Regions from separate parts of the Homo sapiens genome. Here all the other regions are linked to region 2. The links are contacts of gene promoters, found by promoter capture Hi-C in human tissues and cell types (Jung and others, 2019). All regions are on one chromosome and are shown on one strand. Each heading gives the region's core, a stretch centred on a gene start or on the middle of the fragment in contact. The rest is flanking DNA. Distances are from core to core; before and after follow the strand shown. Region 1 overlaps FCHSD2 (FCH and double SH3 domains 2). Region 2 holds the start of STARD10 (StAR related lipid transfer domain containing 10). Region 3 has its middle 28 kb from the start of CLPB. Region 4 overlaps FCHSD2 (FCH and double SH3 domains 2).

Region 1 (2,700 bases), core at 152-2,651, 330 kb before region 2:
GTCCTTTGTCCCACTGCTGCAGATGTTCTGTCAGTGTTGATCGGGAGTAATTTATGGAACCTTAGCTGGTATTTTTGTTAATTTCATTTTGTTAGGTCCTTTCAATATTCCTTGATCGTGCTTTGTTTTAACATTCCATTTGATCTTTTTGGCATTCATGTGGGAATCCTTTGTCATCCAGATGTTTTCTGTTTTGTGAGCTTGGAAATAATCCCAATTTAATAAGAAAATGTTATTTCTGGTGTTATGAAAAGTGTTACCATGTCTGTGGTTCCACAGAAACAAGTTGGAGTATATATTATATATGTCTCCTGATTGTATTTTAGTGATAATTGTTTTTCCTCTTACTGGTGATTGGAGGATGGGAGCAAGGGACAGAGACTCTTTTTGTTGTTTGCTTTTGAGACAGAGTCTTATTCCATCCCAGGCTGGAGCACAGTGGTGCAATCTCGGCTCACTGCAACCTCTGCCTCCCGTGTTCCAGCAATTCTTGTGCCTTGGCCTCCTGAGTAGCTAGGATTACAGGTGTGCAACACGATGCTCGGCAAATTTTTTTATTTTTCATAAAGATAGGGTTTTGCCATGTTGGTCAGGCTGGTCTTGGACTTCTGACCTCAAGTGATCCACCTGCCTTGGCCTCCCAAAGTGCTGGGATTACAGACGTGAGCCACTGCACCCAGTCTAAGCTTTTTATTGTATGTTCTTTTTTGTGTATTTTGAATTTTAAACTATGTGAATATTATGCTCAAAACTAAAATTTAATGATTCAGTAATATTGGTAAACATTTTATTGCATGTCTGTTAAGCATAACAGATATTTAACAGATATTATAAAAGTTCGTATTAGTTGATGCTAAAATGCCATTTTTGGCTTTTAATTAGTTTTTAGTGAAGCTATTTTCATTATTAATAGACTTTAAAATTTATTTCTAATATGTACAAGTATTAAGAATACTTGATTTACAAACTTTTCTTCATAAAGTGATTGGTTTCCAGTTGGTTGTAGCACAAAGTTGGGAAAACAAGCTTTATGTACTACTGTATTCCTTTCTTTCTGTATTGTGGAATTTTTTTTTTTTTTTTTTTTTTTTTTTTTTTAAGATGGAATCTTGCCCTGTTGCCCAGGCTGGAGTGCAGTGGCGTGATCTCAGCTCACTGCAACCTCTGCCTCCCAGGTTCAAGCGATTCTCCTGCCTCAGCCTCCCAAGTAGCTGGGATTACTGGTACCCATGACTATGCCTGGCTAATTTTTGTATTTTTAGTAGAGATGGGATTTCACCATGTTGGCCAGCCTGGTCTCGAACTTCTGACCTTGTGATCCGCCCACCTCGGCCTCCCAAAGTGCTGGGATTACAGGTGTGAGCCACCGCACCTGGCCGTGGAATTCTTTTGTCTTGAAACAAGCAAACATATTAGATAGAGTCTTGCCTAATGTCAAATTTCATTTTAGCTGCCTTTATCCAAAGGTTTTATATCATAGCCATCAATTAAAACATTGTTTCTGTTGTGAAATGTAGTTTTGCATTAGCCAGCTCTCTCCATGGAAGAATGGTTTGCTCTGTTTTACTAAAAGAAGTGTTTTATATAATAGTTTTTCTTAGTTACATTGAATCAATTGAAATTGTTAGTATTCCATTTTCTTTCTTTCTTTTTTCTTTTTCTTTTTGCATTTGTTAGCTATTCCTCTGTTTTTAAAGTGGTCATTCTAAGATATGACATTGTGTTTTTTTTTGTCTTGAGACAGGGTCTCTGTTGTCTGGGCTAGGTTATAGTGGTGCGGTCATGGCTCACTGCAGCCTTAACCCCTTGAGCTCAAACAGTCCTCTTGCCTCAGCCTCCTGAGTAGCTCAGACTACAGATGTGTGCCACTATGCCTGGCTAATTTTTTAAATTCTTAGTAGAGACAGGGTCTTACTATGTCTCCCAGGCATCATTGAACTGTGGAGCTCAAGCAGTCCCCCTTCTTTGGCCTCCCAAAGTGCTGGGATTATAGGCATGAGCCACCACACTCGATCTACACCATGCATTCTTAATTTATCACTGTCTACTTAGAGTTAATATTGTACCATTCCACATACGACCTTACAATGGTCTAATTACAGTTATTCCATCCCAGACTTTGTGCTGCTTATAAACCTCGTAATATAATGTTAGTTTTCTTTAAACAGGTATCTTTTAAAAAGATTAAGAGAAGGAAAAAAGTCTTATATTTACTAATCCTGACTCTTCTTTCCTTCCTGAAACCAACATACAGGTTTGAGTTTCCATCTGTTATCATTTTCTTTCAGCTTAAGGAACTTCCTTCAGCATTTCTGGTGCAATTCTGCAGCTTTTGACACTTCTCTTAGCTTTCATATGTCTGAAAATGTCTTTATTTCACCCTCACTTTGGGAAGATATTTTTGCTGGATATAGAATTCTGAGTTGGTCACTCCAGTGTCTTCTGGCTTTCATTATTTCTGATGAGAAGTTAGCTCTTACTTATAGACTTGTTCACATCTATGGAATGTGCTTTCCCTTGCTCTAATAGCTTTTTTCTCTTTATCTTTGGTTTCCTACAGTTTGAGTGTAATGTGACTAGTATAGTGTCTGTAATTATCTTGTTTGGGGTTCATCATTCAATGGTTGATGCTTTTCATGAAACCTGGGAAACTTCTGGCCATTGTTTCCTTTTTTTTTTTTTGAGACAGAGTCTCACTCT
Region 2 (2,799 bases), core at 267-2,766:
AGGAGTGATGGAAGAGGAAGCCCTGTGAGAGGTGCAGACTGCTACCCTCTAGAACACCAGGATGCCTAAATAGTAGAGGGCAGTTTCATTAGCGACATCAGTTTGCAAACTGAAAAGAGACACTCTCCTGTAGGTACCAAAGGTGCTCTCTCTTTGTATAGGGAAAAGGCAGGCTGGTTGTTTTTTGTTTTTGTTTTTTGAGACGGAGTCTCGCTCAGTCGCCCAGGCTGGAATGCAGTGGTGCGATCTCGGCTCACTGCAACCTCCACCTCCCAGGTTCATGCCATTCTCCTGCCTCAGCCTCCCGAGTAGCTGGGACTACAGGCGCCCGCCACCACACCCAGCTAATTTTTTTGTATTTTTAGTAGAGACGGGGTTTCACCATGTTAGCCAGGATGGTCTCAATCTTCTGACCTCGTGATCCGCCCGTCTTGGCCTCCCAAAGTGCTGGGATTACAGGCGTGAGCCACCACTCCCGGCCTAGGCTGGTTTATGACTCACAGGGTCTGTATTTCACAATAATCATACATATTCAGCAGGTTTTGGGGAAAAGCTATACATATTTATGAGGGGATGTGAGTGCATGCACAATGGGTAAACACCTGTAACATATGTTCCATGTTCACTTTGGGATGGGGTTTTTGCGTTAAAGTGAGGTGGAATTTGGTTCTTTGCATCATAAGGTGGACTATAGGACACAAACACAGTTTGCGTGCAGTCTCTATGAGCTTGCTGAAACTGGCCTGAGGTCTGCAGTTACTTATCAGGAAAGAATGTTTGTAAGGCCTGTCCTCTGTCGATCAGCGTTGTAGTGGTCTGAGTTGTAAATCTCAGTAAAGAAGAGTCTGACAATTTGCATGATAGCTCCTATTGCTAGGGGTTTAGTAAGAGTGTGGTTTTTCTGGCAGCAGTAGAAATTTAAGAAGTTGCCATGCCAGCTGACAGCTGAGCCCTGAGGTAGGCAACGTTTGTTTCCTTAACCTTAACCTTAAGGTCCATCGTAGTTGATAAAAAGGCATCTGGCCAGGCCTGATGGCTCACGCCTATAATCCCAGCACTTTGGGAGGGTGAGGCGGGAGGCCAGCAGTTCTGGGGCCACTGCACTCCAGCCTGACAGACAGAGACCCTGTCTCAAAAAATAAATAAATAAAAAAGATAAAGGGGCATTTGTCTTGATCGCTCAGATCACACAACTAATAAGTAGCATTCTTTCTAAAAGCCGCAACAATGCTACTCCTCTCTTATAAGAGCTACTGTGTAACTCCTGCCCAACTCAAACCCACAGGCCCAGGCTCAGAACACTTGGCTCCATTGCTTCACTGTTTCCCTGCTAGCACGAACCCCCCAAACTCCATCTCCCAACATGCCGCGGGCCCCCTTTCTGTCAGCCTGACTCTTGAGCTCCTGAGAAATGTAGTTTTTCCAGCGGCCCAGCCCCAGAAAGGTCCTAGCCAAGAACTACAGTTCCCATGTGGCAATGCGCGCGCCATTCCGGTGGAATTCACCGCGGTCTCCAGTTTGCCATGATGGATGCCAGAACCTGCACGTGGGGCTTGGTGACGCGATGACTGAGATGCTGGAGTCCCCGGTCAGAAGGACGATGCCGAGCGCGCCGTATTTTCTCCTGCCTCTCCTCAGATCGCCGCCGTTGTTGGGCTGTGGAGACGTCTCAACCAAAGTGGAGCCGACAGAGGCCCCGGGAGCCGTGGTGACAGAGCGGCCACAACCACTAGGGGGCGGGAGGCAGAGCGGCCCCTAGTCCGCCCCTAGTCCGGGACCTCTGGGCGGTCCCGGGCGGGAAGCGCACGCGCAAACGCGGGGCTTCGCGGCCGCTGTAAACACCAAAGAGCGCCTGCGCAAGCCGAGAGTCTCGGGATCGACACGTGGGGGCGCCTGAGCGAAGATAACCGTAATAAATAGTAACCTAACGGTCCAGTCATCGTTCTGTGGTCCTTTCTTTTATGATTCACAAGGAATGACCCTCTTCATCGCCTCTCCTAATTCAGTCCTCACAACAGTCCTTTTACAAATGGGACAACAGGTTAGAGGAAGTCAGGCAGATTTCCAGCATCATAGAGAGTAAAGGACCAGGGAAGGATCAGGATTCAAGGACTGCACCCAGGCTCTGCTTCCAGCTTGCTGTGTGACTTTGGGTAATTTTGTTCCCTTAGGGAACTGAGCTTTCTCATTTGTAAATGCAAACAGGCTGTTGGGAGGATCAAATGAGATCCAGGGGTGAAAACAGCTTAGTTTACTTTCAGGAATTTACCCACGCGGTATATAAAGGCAAAATATTATTATAGTCAGGTGATTGTAGATTGAGGAACCCATTTCCTCATTCTGCAAATTGCAAACCTGAGGGCCCAAAGAGGGACAGGGGCTTGCCCCAGGTCTCAGCAGGCTGTGAGCAAGAGCTAAAGCCTAATCCTCCTGCCTTTGGGCCTGGAGCCCTTCCTTGTACCCCAGGGGTCAGTGTCTTTGTTGGATACAGGCTTAGATTGACTGACTGTACCCTGAGAACCTAGGGGAGTCCCTGTTCCCAATTCTTCTCCTACCCCCACCTTGGCCTGATGGAGGAAGACCCTGCTGTGTTGAGATGAGCACCAGAGCCAAGAAGCTGAGGAGGATCTGGAGAATTCTGGAGGAAGAGGAGAGTGTTGCTGGAGCTGTACAGACCCTGCTTCTCAGGTCAGTGGCCCAAGTAAGGGAAAGAACCCAGGTGTGACAGATGAGGGGGCAGCACTAAGGGGACAGACTCTGAATGGAAAGGAGTGGGAAGGCAGTGGACACTGTTTCTGA
Region 3 (2,700 bases), core at 155-2,654, 330 kb after region 2:
CATATAAGCCAGGCTTAAGATAAACAACACAAAGCACTCACCAATGACCTGACAGGTTAAGAGGCAACACTTGCCCCAAGATGTCCCATCACAGGGAGTCTTATGACTTTAGATGAAAAGTTGAGGCAAAGATTTTCACACTTTCCTACTGGACATGAATGTGGAATGATGTTGCCCCAGAAGTCGCCGACAGTCATATCAAAACCACAGGGGAGAGACACTCTCTCTGCGAATGAGACCAACACAAACTGGGGAGCAGAGCCAAAGGACAGAGGGGATCCATGTCCTGATTATGTTTCACAAGCTCCTGTCTCAGTTACACCTGTAGCCAGCCCTAATCTGGGACTTTTGTATTGCATGAGCCTATCAATCCACTTTTTGCTTACAATGAAAATAGTCTTGCATACAATGAAAATATTCTTAACTAATATAGATTGTATGTATTCACATATTGATTTTTAACTTTTAGATTGAACAGAATGTATTATGGCAAAAGAAGAGACTATCAATGTTTTTATTTTATTTATTTTTATAAGACAGTATCATCAAGCAATATCAGTGTTTTTAACTTGACAATGTTAACATAAAAGCACAGATGCTAGAAACAGAGGTGGAAGATAAAAGGAAGAGTAAATAAAGAACAAGAGCACCAATATCTTAAAAACTTGAGGTCAAGAAACAGCCCATAGGCAATGAAACAAGAAATAAAAGTGTAAGTTAGCATTTAAAGTTACAGAAGTAACAAATAAAGGAACCCCAAACAATGTTATAAGCAAATTGGGAAGACAAGTAAGGAGAGTAAAAGATATGTACCCTAGGACCTTTGAGAAAATGGAGTTCAGTTCTAAAACCACTAAAAACAAAACAAAATTTATTTGACCTCCAATCCTGAAGAAAAAAACAATTTTTTTGAGCACCAAGTAAAAGGGGAAAAAATCAAAGGGAAGGAAAATAGATTTAAATGGTAAGGTCCAGCTGGAGGAAACTAGAGGAAAAATTGGAATGAAACTGTGAGCAATGGTATTCGTCTATATGCTGCCCTTATAAGCGTTTGGTACTTGCTTTGAGGCTACTCTAGGATGGTTGGCACTTCTTTTTCCTTTTGGATGATTGATGTGCAACTGATGCTTATCAGTCAGATCATCTGGATGTGCACACTTGGTAGCCAGCCCGAGGATGCTTCAGCTGAGGTTAAAAGAGAAAATGAATTGGAGACTTAGAAATTGGGGGAATAAAACTAATGAAAACATGGCTTGGTTTGAGTGTTGTTTAACATCAATGTTGGTGAGAAAATAGAAAAATTATCAGCTGAAAAAAGGAGGGATATTTAATAATATCTCACATTAGAAAAAAGTAACAACAACCTTGGAGCATGATACGATGTACTCATGACTCCTTACATGAAAGGGAGAGTGGGGCAGAAACAAAAAGAAAATGCATGCTAGGTCATCAAAGTGACCTGAGAAAACTCTGATATTGATCTGCCTTCTCCTGGTTGATAAGTGGCACCAGCCTAGGTCCCAAATTTTGGCTCTAATATTTTTCTCTTGGAAGAAGAACTAAGATTCTGGGGAAAAAAACTGATTCCACCTTTTGAAGTAGAAAGCATTTCATACCCAGCCTGGAACACCCTGTCATTCAAGAAAGCAGAGCTGTGAGTAGCCAAAGAGTGACCACATAAACTCCAGAGAGGGAAAAAATGACCACAGTTAATCAGAACGAACTGAGTCTATTGAAAGAACTGTGAGTCCACAGCATCCTAAATAGTTAGAAGGAAGACTTCACAAAGGGAACTGAAAGGTAGTGATGGCCTGGCACAATGGCACACTCTGGTAGTCCCAGCTTCTTGGGAGGCTGAGGCAGGAGGATCACTTGAGCCCGGGAAGTGATCGTGCCACTGCACTCCAACCTGAGCAACACAGTGAGACTCTGCCTCAAAAGATAAAAATACGAGTAAAAAGAAAAAGTAGTGATAATGTGCACACTAGCTAGCAAAATTATTAAAGTTTTGTATTGATCAGCCCAAACTACGTGAGTCATTCACTGGCATTTTGGTCATATCCCAGAAAATAAAATTTAGGAGTAGGTTTTGGGAGAAAAAAATCTTAGAAAGGCACACATCAAACATGGAAAGTTTTTTCTGTTTTGTTTTGTTTGGTTTGGTTTTGAGACAGAGTCTCAAGTCTGTTGCCAGGCTGGAGTGCAGTGGCGTGATCTCAGCTCACTGCAACCTCTGACTCCCTGGTTCAAGCAATTCTCCTGCCACAGCCTCCCGAGTAGCTGGGATTACAGGCTCGTGCCACCATGCCTAGGTATTTTTTGTATTTTTAGTAGAGATGGGGTTTCATTATGTTGGCCAGGATGGTGTTGATCTCTTGACTTCTTGATCCACCCTCCTCGGCCTCCCAAAGTGTTGGGATTACAGGCGTGAGCCACCGCACCCGGCCTTTTTTTTTTTTGAGATGGAGTCTTAAGTCTGTTGCCAGGCTGGAGTGCAGTGGCATGATCTCACCTCACTGCAACCTCTGACTCTCTGGTTCAAGCAATTCTCCTGCATCAGCCTCCCGAGTAGCTGGGATTACAGGCACATGCCACCACGCCCAGCTATTTTTTGTATTTTTAGTAGAGACGGGGTTTCATTATGTTGTTCAGGATGGTCTCAATCTCTTGACCTCATGATCCACCCTCCTCGGCCTCCCA
Region 4 (2,700 bases), core at 180-2,679, 290 kb before region 2:
CGTCCGCCTTGGCCTCCCAAAGTGTTGGGATTACAGGCATGAGCCACTGTGCCCAGCCCTTTTCTTGTTATTTCTGTCTCATTTTGATCCCCCACTTTGCTGCCTTTGAATCATTATAAAGAAGGTTGTAAACCTGGAGGAGACATTATTTACTATATTTGTAAAGTATTTACAAGTATGAATAATAATACTTTTTACAAGTTTGTTGATTTATTCTTCTTTATATGCCCCATTCTCTGCAGTTTATGAAAGGTTAATTTTTCATCACGCATTTAGTTCTCATTATGACTGTGTTGATAAAGAGTAATAATGCTTTTAGTGGATGACATGGAGCTTTTCCTAGGGAAATTGAAGCATTTCCTTCTTTAATTTTACTTAGACCTTTAGTGGAGTCCAGATTACAAAATGTGACAAGAAAAAATTATGTTGATGTATCATTTTATGGTTGTATAAGAATTAATAACTATTCTTTCATGTACAAAGATAATTTGATACAGTTTGAAAATTTTGACCCTTTAAGCAATTACTTTATATGTGGGGGAGTATTCTAAAATTGTTATTTCCTTCTGCAAATTGTAAAAGTTGTCTTTGTAGCAAAAATTTTAAAATATGGGAGATTGTTAGAAGGAAAAATTAACATACAGTAAATTTTCTACATGGTAACCACTATTGCTGCTACTGTTTTTATTCTCATTATAAATAATGAGAGATTGGGGCATGACTCTTTTAGGCTTTGTCAGATTTTTTAATGAAATTCTGATTTCATTATAGTTAATTTTGTAGCTGTTTGCCTTTATTTTTGATTTGATAATCTTAGAAGAAAATCACCTATTCCTTGAAAGCTAGACAGAACTAATTAATTCATTGGTTCAATCAGTAGTTGTTGAGTGCTTATTGTGTATCAGGTGCTTTACATAATGAATAGCATCAGTTTTAATATTTCTGTTGAATGCTTTTTCTTTTCTTTTTTTTTTTTTTTTTTTTTTTTTTTGGGACAAGTCTCACTCTGTGATCCAGGCTAGAGTGCAGTGGTGCGATCTCGGCTCACTGCAACTTCCACCTCCCAGATTCAAGCGATTCTCCTGCCTCAGCCTCCTGAGTAGCTGGGATGACAGGCACACGCCATCACGCCCAGCTAATTTTTTGTATTTTTAGTAGAGACTGGGTTTCACCCTGTTGGCCAGGATGGTCTCAATCTCTTGACCACGTGATCCGCCTACCTCGGCCTCCCAAAGTGCTGGGATTACAGGCATGAGCCACCGCGCCCAGCCGATTTTTGTATTTTTAGTAGAGACGGGATTTTGCCATGTTGGCCAGGCTGGTCTCGAACTGCTGACCTTAGGTGATCCGCCCACCTCAGCCTCCCTAAGTGCTGGGATTACAGGCGTGAGTCACCGCGCCCGATCTTGAATGCTTTTTCTATGCCTGTATAATAAATACTAGTAATGATAGCTGACATTTATTGAATCCTTACTTTGTACCATGCTCTGAGTATTTTATATATGTTATCTGGTTTGATCCTTTCAAACCTGTGAAATAGCAACAGTTATGATGCCCTTTACAAATACACTTTCATACATGTACACTACATATATATTTATAAAATTGAGATGAAAGTCTGTGATACGCTATTTTAGCCAAGTGCAGTGGCACATGCTTGTAATCCCAGCTAGTGGGGAGGCTGAGGCAGGAGAGTTGCTTGATCCCTGGAGCCGGAGATTGCAGTGAGCTCAGATAGTGCCATTGGACTCCAGCCTGGGCAATGGGAGTGAAACCCTGTCTAAAAAAAAAATAGAAAAAAAGTCTATGATATGCTTTAAAAATTTTTAATACAAAATCAAAATTTTTATATGATACAGTCTTCTGTAACAAGATTTATTTATTTATTTAATTGAGATGGAGTCTCACTCTGTCACCCAGGCTGGAGTCCAGTGGCGCCATCTTGGCTCACTGCACCCTCCACCTCCCAAGTTCAAGCAATTCTCCTACCTCATCCTCCCGAATAGCTGGGACTACAGGTGCGTGCCACCATGCCCTTCTAATTTTTGTATTTTTAGTAGAGTTGGGGTTTCACCATAGTGGGCAAGATGATCTCGATCTCTTGACCTTGTGATCCACCTGCCTCGGCCTCCCAAAGTGTTGGGATTTCAGGCATGAGCCACAGTGCCTGGTCGATTTAAAGTTTTAATCAAGTAAATAGGACATGTTTATTATTTAAAATGTAAAATACTACATTAAATTTTATGAAAAGTGAGTCCTCTGCTCCAATCCCAGTCTTTTTCCACAAAGATTAAAAGTGGATGTCTACTTTGGTTCTCCTGGTGATTATTTCTATTTCTTTATTTTATTTTATTTTATTTTATTTTTGTTGTTTTTTTGAGACAGAGTCTTGCTCTGTCACCCAGGAAAAACTAGAGTGCAGTAGTACAGTCTTGGCTCACTGCAACTTCCGCCTCCTGGGTTCAAGTGATTCTCCTGCCTCAGCTTCCTGAGTAGCTGGGATTACAGGTGCCTGCCATCACACCTGGCTAATTTTTGTCTTTTTAGTAGAGATGGGGTTTCACAATGTTGTCCAGGCTGGTTTTGAACTGCTGACCTCAGATCATCCGCCCACCTCAGCCTCCGAAAGTGCTGAGATTACAGGTGTGAGCCACCATGCCCAGCCTCTATATCTTTAAATAATATGCTTATAACTCACTC

The links. Contacts are between HindIII fragments. The study calls those that stand out against the background at their distance.
Region 1: a fragment that was not itself captured here is called in contact with the fragment with the promoter of STARD10 in region 2 in 3 of the 25 tissues and cell types used here (dorsolateral prefrontal cortex, heart right ventricle and hippocampus).
Region 3: a contact is called between a fragment that was not itself captured here and the fragment with the promoter of STARD10 in region 2, in 2 of the 25 tissues and cell types used here (mesendoderm cells and thymus).
Region 4: a fragment that was not itself captured here is called in contact with the fragment with the promoter of STARD10 in region 2 in 4 of the 25 tissues and cell types used here (heart right ventricle, lymphoblastoid cells, mesendoderm cells and 1 more).

The regions. Positions count from the first base shown.
Region 1 is chr11:73,124,738-73,127,437 of GRCh38, reverse strand. All of the region lies in intron 2 of FCHSD2 (FCH and double SH3 domains 2), which reads left to right. Among named protein-coding and RNA genes, the nearest start is that of FCHSD2, 16 kb to the left of the region's middle. The HindIII fragment of the contact is 4,053 bases long and covers 1-2,700 here.
Region 2 is chr11:72,792,764-72,795,562 of GRCh38, reverse strand. STARD10 (StAR related lipid transfer domain containing 10) reads left to right here and starts at 1,516. Exons shown (of 7, transcript NM_006645.3): 1 at 1,516-2,688. RefSeq lists an enhancer at 1,191-1,760. The HindIII fragment of the contact is 19,379 bases long and covers 1-2,799 here.
Region 3 is chr11:72,461,440-72,464,139 of GRCh38, reverse strand. No RefSeq gene overlaps it. Among named protein-coding and RNA genes, the nearest start is that of CLPB, 28 kb to the right of the region's middle. The HindIII fragment of the contact is 5,010 bases long and covers 1-2,700 here.
Region 4 is chr11:73,080,627-73,083,326 of GRCh38, reverse strand. All of the region lies in intron 3 of FCHSD2 (FCH and double SH3 domains 2), which reads left to right. Among named protein-coding and RNA genes, the nearest start is that of FCHSD2, 60 kb to the left of the region's middle. The HindIII fragment of the contact is 7,146 bases long and covers 1-2,700 here.